2 separate regions of the Homo sapiens genome follow, and region 1 is linked to region 2. Evidence: promoter capture Hi-C in human tissues and cell types (Jung and others, 2019). All regions are on one chromosome and are shown on one strand. Each heading gives the region's core, a stretch centred on a gene start or on the middle of the fragment in contact. The rest is flanking DNA. Distances are from core to core; before and after follow the strand shown.

The links. The method cuts DNA at HindIII sites, captures the fragments that hold promoters and counts their contacts. A contact is called where the count stands out against the background at its distance.
Region 1: a fragment that was not itself captured here is called in contact with the fragment with the promoter of ADIPOR2 in region 2 in 2 of the 25 tissues and cell types used here (aorta and heart left ventricle).

The regions. Positions count from the first base shown.
Region 1 is chr12:1,975,638-1,979,754 of GRCh38, forward strand. All of the region lies in intron 3 of DCP1B (decapping mRNA 1B), which reads right to left. It also overlaps a transcript of CACNA1C not described here. Among named protein-coding and RNA genes, the nearest start is that of DCP1B, 27 kb to the right of the region's middle. The HindIII fragment of the contact is 3,462 bases long and covers 426-3,887 here.
Region 2 is chr12:1,689,487-1,693,569 of GRCh38, forward strand. ADIPOR2 (adiponectin receptor 2) reads left to right here and starts at 1,584. Exons shown (of 8, transcript NM_024551.3): 1 at 1,584-1,705. RefSeq lists enhancers at 1,087-1,246, 1,267-1,316, 1,400-1,978 and silencers at 1,477-1,776, 1,797-1,886. The HindIII fragment of the contact is 10,259 bases long and covers 1-2,761 here.

The DNA.
Region 1 (4,117 bases), core at 907-3,406, 290 kb after region 2:
CAAGCCACAGATGCAGCGTATCAATCTGAATAGCATTACTATGTTTTCTTGGTCAAGCTGAGAACCTTAATAGTCTTTATGGTTTAGGATAAAACAAGTGACTTTACTTTGTAGCAGCTGTAAATCACCATATATGACTTTGCCACATGGGTTTTTCCTCACCTCAGCATGTCAGATTGTTAAGTTACATAAGAAATGTATATATTCACATGAAGGTTCTCTCCGTGAGTCCCCTGGCAGTTATGATGGAGAAGTAGAAACTGTGTTAATTGGATGGTCAGGGTGAAGAGAAGGGTTGTTTACTCACACTGTGTATCTGCTTATGTGTGTGTTTCAAGGAACTATCTGGTGTCACAACTCAACACACAGAAAAATAGAAATACGAAATCCAGAGATACCACAAGGCTCAAGAGTGAAATTCTGCTTTACTTGAGATTTTTCAGAGCCTTTCTTTAGATGGATAGTTTTCTTTAGAGTTTAGATCCCTTCCTTTCAGCCTAAGTGGAGTACTGACAGAGAACAAAAAAGTCATTTTGGATTAAAGGTCACAGTGACAAGTTTCATCACTCAAGTCACAGTAGACGTATAACCCTTTATCATATATTAACATGTTAGCTCTCTAAGCAATGGTGCATAATAAATAGATCAATTTTTCAGTCGGAATGGCAAAGGAGACTTAGAGACACAAAGTAAGATTCAGTGACCACATTATGATTTTTAAATTTTGGTGGCTCTTCTTTCTTTCTCATTAAATGCAGGCTTAAAAGGAGTCCTTGAAAGTTTCTAATTCAACCAACCACTCCTCTCACATACAGTAAAAGAGCCTCAAGACTGTATAGGTTACCTATTCTGACTAAATATGAAATGTCAAATTCCTCGGCTCCCATTCCTCACTGCTCATGATGTGAATGAGTCTACTTTAAGGTCTTGTCTTCCTGGGCAGATCCCGAAGAGAAATGTATTCTGTTATTCCTGCAAATACTAAGTTTTTGCCTAGTAAGAATGTCAAGTATTTTTAGCCATATAGTTACTTTAAATATTAGTTTCTTGACCCTAGAGAGCTTTAGGGGTTCAATAAAATCCCTAAAACTATATGCAAAATGTCATGTATATATGCAAATTTTGGGAGGTGAAAAAGTGCAAAGCATAGACCCTCTAAAACAATGTCTGGCACACAGCAGTCAAGCAAATATATTTGAGGAAAGGGGGAGAGGGAGGGAGGGAGGGGGAGGAAGGAAAGTAGGAAGTAAAGAAGGAAGAAATGAAGGAAAAAAGGGAAGAAGAAAAGTCTTCAGATTCTCATAGGGGTTTGTGACTCACAGAAGATTAGGAACTACTATTTGCGACTATCAATATGCCAATAAATATCCTAGAATGGAAAACAACCCTCAGTTATCTCTGGGCAGATAATGTGTCTTTCATTTACTTGGTAATAAATTTACACAGAGTTCACTTTTAACTTTCCAGATTGCTTTTGTAATCACTGCCTAAACTGATTGCAAGGTTAAGAAAAGACGTAACAAAGTCTCCAAGTCTTAGAATTTGTTAAGTTGGAAGAGCTTTTATTCCTCCATGTAGCCTGAAGCCTAGGAGAAAGCTTAAAAAGCACAGATCTGTTAGCATGCTCGGCCATGATGAGGGTGAATCACACAGTTCAGCTGTGGCTACTGGTTTGCCTTCGTTGGAGAGGTGTCATTCTCCGTCTCTACCATGAAGTGGGAAACAGGAAGACATTTTGGAAAGCTCGACAACTTTGTGACTCCTGCTTGATCACTCCAAGCAGCGTATCTTCAAAGCTTTGTCTTATGCATTCTGATGTTCCAGATGCCACACAAAATCATCAGATACACATATACACATATAACAATTCTAGAATATAAGTGATTTGCGAATTTTGTTAAGTACACTGTACATGTCTATTTCTTATCTAAATCTGTTTATTTCCTGTGTTTATTTGGCACCACAGAATATAAGTAAAATATAAGATATGGTCTTTGCCCATAAGGGGCCTGTAATTTATTATCCATACCACTGCCTTCTCAATAGCCTAGATAATTAGCAACCAATTAATTAATGGTAACATAGTGGCAGAGAAAACGTTTTACAAAATGCATTCTAAGTATAGTGAGCAATATTGTTTCCAAATTATGACTCATCATTGTTCTCTAAATTTGACTTTCTTACTGCTATTATTTACTATGGGTATATACAGGTACACTTTAACTTTGGAGCTTTGGAAGACAATCAAGTTTATACTTCATAAGATGTTCTATAATAGCCACCAAGAAAATATCTACTATTATATTTTTAAACTGTATTGTTTTTATATGTTTCATTCTAGAGAAAGCACTGCAGAATAATGCTAAGGCTCCTCTTTGCTAGGAAATTGACATTTAAAAAAATTGACTCTCAAGAGAGAAGTGGAAGGTTAATTCCTTCCACTCAGGAAAAATATTAAGTTATACGGTTTCCATATTTTTGGCAAAGAGAAATCTTGCTTCTCTGACCATGGGGAGAAAGCAGATGTCGCAACCCAGAGAAAGGGGGCATAGCCTTCTCACTGATCTGGAAACTAGAAATGCAGACTCAACTATTTCTATTACCTCACATTACTTGGGGCTTTCAGTTGACATCAAGCTTTTGGTATTATGTTGGTTTAAAGTACTGAAGATGTGTTTTAGAACAAGGACTGCTTTATTTCCAGGTTGAAAAAGCCAAGACGCAAAGTAATAAAGAGTTAGTGTAATATTCTAACCAACACAGCAGAGATCAGGGTTAGCAGAAACACTGGTTAATAAATGTCAGGAAAATAAAGAAGGGTAAAAAATTATCCTTAAATTTTCATTTATTTAAATACTTCTTTTATAAGGTTCAATTATTTCTACTTTCTTACATTGAAGAATCATTTATGTACAAGAAAATGCACAGATCTTAAAGTGTTCTGCTCAGTGAGTTGGCAATAAAACACTCTTATGTAACCAACACTGAAAACAAGATATAAAATATTTTTATCACTCTTTTCCAGTCAACAACCACACCCCACTTCCACCACCAGCCCCAGCAGAGACAACCAATTTTTTACTTCTATCACCCTAGATTAGTTTTGCCTGTTCTTCAACTTCATATAAACTTCATATAAATGGGGTCGTACAGTATATCCTCTTTTGTAGATGGCTTGCTTTGCTCAACATGTTTCTGAAATTAATTCATGTTGTTGAATATATCAGTAGTTCATTTCTTCTTATCGCTGAGTAGTGTTCTATTATTATATACCAAAATTTGTTCATCTATGTAACTATTAATGGGTATCCAGGTTATTACCAGAGTTTTTTGCTATTATGAATAAAACTGCTTTGAGCATTTGTGTAAAAGTCTTTGTGTGGACATGTGCTTTCGGAGTCTCACTCTGTCACCCAGGCTGGAGTGCAATGGCGCGATCTTGGCTCACTGCTGCAACCTCCGCCTCCCGCGTTCAAGAAATTCTCCTGCCTCAGGCTCCCAAGTGGCTGGGATTACACGTGCCCGCCATCGAGCCTGGCTAATTTTTTTTATTTTTAGTAGAGATGGGGTTTCGCCATGTTGGCCAGGCTGGTCTCAAACTCCTGACCTCAGGTGATCCGCCTGCTTCGGCCTCCCAAAGTGTTGGGATTACAAGCGTGAGCCACAGCGCCTGGATTTTTTGTTTGTTTGTCTTTGAGACGGAGTCTGGCTTCATCGCCCAGGCTGGAGTGCAGTGGTGCCATCTTGGCTCACTACAACCTCCACCTTCAGGGTTCAAGTGATCCTGCCTTGGCCTCCCCAGTAGCTGGGATCACAGGGGCCTGCCACCATGCCTGGCTAATTTTTGTATTTTTAGTAGAGAGGGGGTTTCACCATGTTGGCCAGGCTCGTCTCGAACTCCTGACCTCAAGTGATCCGCCCGCCTCAGCCTCCCATAGTGTTGGGATTACAGGCGTGAGCCACCGTGCCCAGCCCATTTCTCTTAAGTAAATAACTACGAACGGAACTTGTTGGATCATACGCTAGTTATATGTTTAAGTTTATGAGAAATTGCCAAATAGTTCTCCAAAGTAGTTGTAGCATATTACTCTTTCACAAGCAATGTATCAAAGTTTCC
Region 2 (4,083 bases), core at 334-2,833:
GAGAAAGGGATGCAGGAAAGATTGGAGATCTTTGAAGAATCTCTTTTTAAGAAAATTATCTTTTTCGCTCTAGTTCTGTCACCTTTAGTAGACTCTTTATTAAGCCTAAGAATCTTATACTTCTTATCTCTGTTCTATGTGAGTTGGTATAACGGGTCAAATTCACAATCCAGAAATGCCTGTATTGTTTCTGATGTGCTGAGGAGGTGTACAATTGTCTTCCTTGATTTCAACCTCAAAAGCTTTACATCTTTACCTGGGAACATAGAAGTCATTATTATTATGTCTTTCACAAATTATGTAAACTTAAAAAAATTATATTTTCAATGTAAACCACTCCTTGGAGGAAATTAGTTCCTTTAACATTTATTTCCTAATTTTAATTTCTACTAGTTTTATCTCTTTCAAGCTTAAATGAGTGGGCCTTAGTTCTGTATTATTGCCATCTTAATCATGTTCTTTGTGATTTTAGTAGCTTTACTTTTTAAAACTTACATTTCCATAATGAAGACTTCTGTATTTTTGTTTTTTTCGTCATATATCCGACTCCAGCTCCCTCAAGACCTGTCAGCTTTTCCCTGCACCCTTTGTTATCTCTTGCTGTGGTCCAAAGGTAAGGACAGTAAGCCGTGGGCACAGACTTTCCCTAAATCGTATGGATTTCCTTTAGTCAATAACAAGAATTTTGATAGTTAAGGCATTTACGCCTTAAGAATGTGATAAATTCCCCCTCCTACTGAATGTAAAGAACTATTTTTCTACGCAGACTAACTCTTATATTCACTTTTCTTATAGAATAAGTACGTAACCAAATCTGTTCTTGGCTTCTAAGAAGTTAGAACTCAACGTAAAGATGACTTGTGGAAAATTACTTACTCATTCTGGGTAAATGGACGCAGGTATTTAGTGCTTAAGTAGGTTCTGATATACCATTACATTAACATCATTTTAAAAATCGCTCTGAATTATATGTATTTTAAGAGTGACTGGGTTTTAAAAAAAATAGAAGTGGTAGAGCATAAATCATAATCTTTAATAAGGTAATAAAAGGCAAACACTATTGCTCTGGGCAAAACTGGGCTAATGCTTTTGGATTTCTTTCCGCAGTCTTCACAGACGACGCTCAGCATCCTATCAGCCCTTGGCAGAGACACACGATCCAGCCTAAATCCTCAAATTCTGGCTCTTGCCCAAAGTGTGTAGCCAGTATCCATAGAGACTGCGAAAAGCATCCGCGAGCCGGGGCGGCCCCCTCCTCCTCAGCTCCAAATTGCTTCCTTTTTCGGTGGGAGAAAAAACTCCGAGGAGTTGTGTGAGCGCCTAAGGAGCGCACGCTCCTCCGGCCCTCAACACCCAGTATAGTTTTCGCTAAGTTCCTGGCCGAACCACAGCTCCCACGATGCACCCAGGTTTTAGAGCGGTCAGAGGGGCGGCTTCCGGTTTAGGACAGCGCGGCTGCGCACGGCGTGTGGTCTTATTGGCTCGAACCGCCTCGTGCGATGCGCGTCACGGCGACGTGCGGTCGTGGGGGCGGGGAGACGCGGCGGCGGCGGTCGCTGTCGCGGCGGCGAGAGCGCGATTCCAGAAGCGGCATCGCGGCGGCGGCAGCGGCGGCGGCTACACCGGGCTTGGCCCCCTCCCTCCTCCGTTCCCCCCTCCTCCCCCCTCCCCTCAGCGGTGGCTCCCAAGAAGTCCGAGACACGCGGTGAGGCGGCGACGGGCTCCGGGTGAGGGTCTCTGGAGTGTGGGCGCCGTTTCCTGGGCGCAGAGGGAGAGCTTGGGGTCGGGGGGAGGTGAGAGCTGAGGGGCGAATGTCCCTGGCGCGGGCGGGAGAGCGCGCTCTCGGCCCGGCCCGCAACTTGATTCCTAACTCTGACCTGCCGCCCGGCGCGCCTTGGCCTGAGGGTCGGCCGTGTGGGGACCTGGAGCCGCCCTCCTTGCGACCGCTGTCGGAGGAGTCCGGCGCCCGCTGTTCCCCTCGCCTCGCCTTTCGCGGCGGAGGGTCGGAGCCTGCTGCCCTCTGCTCACCTTCGGGTGCAGTTGCTCCAGCTCCCTGCCCGCGGAGAGGATCTGCCCGCCCCTCTTCGTCTCTTGTCTGTTTTTATCACTTCTAGGAATTTGTTTGGTGGAGGCTTGGGATGGGCTCTCTCAGCGCTACTTTCACAGTGACTGGGGTGGGGAAGAGTTCCCTCACCTTTTTCAGGTGGCGCGTCAGGCAGCCTGCTTGGTACCTGGAGTCCTGTTTTCCCAAGCCCCCGTCCGTCAGTGTTCGCTTCTTCTAAAATTACCGATGACAGGGTTATAAATCAGTTTTTAGGGGGCTCGGAGAGAGTTTGGGTTGGAAACTGTTAGCTCTTTTTTCCTCCTGGCTTTTGATCTTGATTTAAGCGTTTGCCTCTGAAATTTTGACAACTTCATAAGATGGTCCAAAAGTGAATTTTGGTAGAAAGATTTAAATGCACAGTTGGGATTTTATGGGGGTACGGTGACTTCATTGCAGGTTGTTGACTTTTTTTTTAAAATAAGATGTTCTTTTAATTTTTTGACTCTGGGTTTCTGAGCCTTGGTTATTGTCCCCCATTTCTGTTCCAAAAGCAGACTTTTTTTTTTTTTATCACCCCTTCCCCTCACCCAGAGAATCCCTTTAAACGCCAAGAAAGCTGTCATAACATTTAGCATTATTTGATCACAGAACTTTTCCAAATGAAATGCTAAAAATTCCTTCAGAAAAAAGCATCCATCTACCCATAGCATTATTTTTTGGGGGGAGGCTATACGTCTTGTCAGTTCTGAAAGTTTGAAGTGACCTCTTATCAAAGGCCACCCTTATGTCTCCTTAAACGACTCTTAGGTAATTCCTAGATGTTTTCATCCGTTCTGATAAATTTGTTGTCAGAGTGTTGATTGTGATGATCTGCAACTAAAATTATTTCATCAGTAAAGATTTCCACACATGTGGCAGCTGCTTGTTGGTGAATTATGAAATTTGAAAAAATTGCAAATTAAATGTGAAAGGCATATTTCTTTTAACTTCTGATTGTAACTGTCTGTCCTCCAGTATACGTTCCTATCTAGACTTTGGTCTGCTTAGCAGATTTCCTCTTTTCACTTGACACTAGGAATGGGAGTAGGATTTCCAGAGCCTAAAAGAGAGTTTGTTTTTTTTTTCTATCCCTAGGCTCCTTGTATGAATTTATAAATAAATGGTTTTTTCTATCAATAGTATCAATTTAGCTGGTGCACTTTTTTTTTTTAGTATAAATCACATTTTGTTTCCTAAAATGAAAATAATTTTGTTTTATTCTTTATTTCAGGGATTGACAGATTTTAAAGCCTGCAGGCCCAGTCCTGCCAGTTGCCTCTTTTTGTAAATAAAGATTTGATTAGGCCTGGTGCGATCGCTCACGCTGGTAATCCCAGCACTTTGGGAGGTCGAGGCGGGCAGATAACCTGAGATCAGGAGTTTGAGACCAGCTTGGCCAACATGGTGAAACCCCGTCCCTATTAAAACTACAAAAATTAGCCGGGTGTGGTGGCGCACTCTTGTTATCCCAGCTGCCCGGGAGGCTGAGGCAGGAGAATCGTTTAAACCCGGGAGGTAGAGGTTGCAGTGAGCCAAGATTGCACCATTGCACTCCAGTCTGGACAACAAGAGCGAAACTCCGTCTTAAAAAAAAGAGGAAGAAAAAAGTTTTTATTAGAACATAGCCATATGCAGTCGTTTAGGTATTGTCTGTAGTTTCTTTTGGGGTACAGCAGCAGAGTTGAGTAGTTGTGCCAGAGAGCCATGTGGCCTGTAACACCTTATATTTATTTACTATGTGGACCTTAATATAAAAAGTTTGCCGAGCTCCATTAAAAATGATACATAGTCAATGTTGAAAATTTAAATGAGTCAGAAAATTGTAAAGGAGAAAGTAAAAGTTATTTACAAGTACACCACTTGGGGCTTTTTTTCTGTGATTATAGAATTTGTTGGTGATTATTTTTTATATAAATGAACTCAAATTGATAAATGTTGGTTTGTAATCTGCTTTTTTTTTTTTTTGTTCATTTTGTTTTTTGAGACGGAGTTTCGTTCTT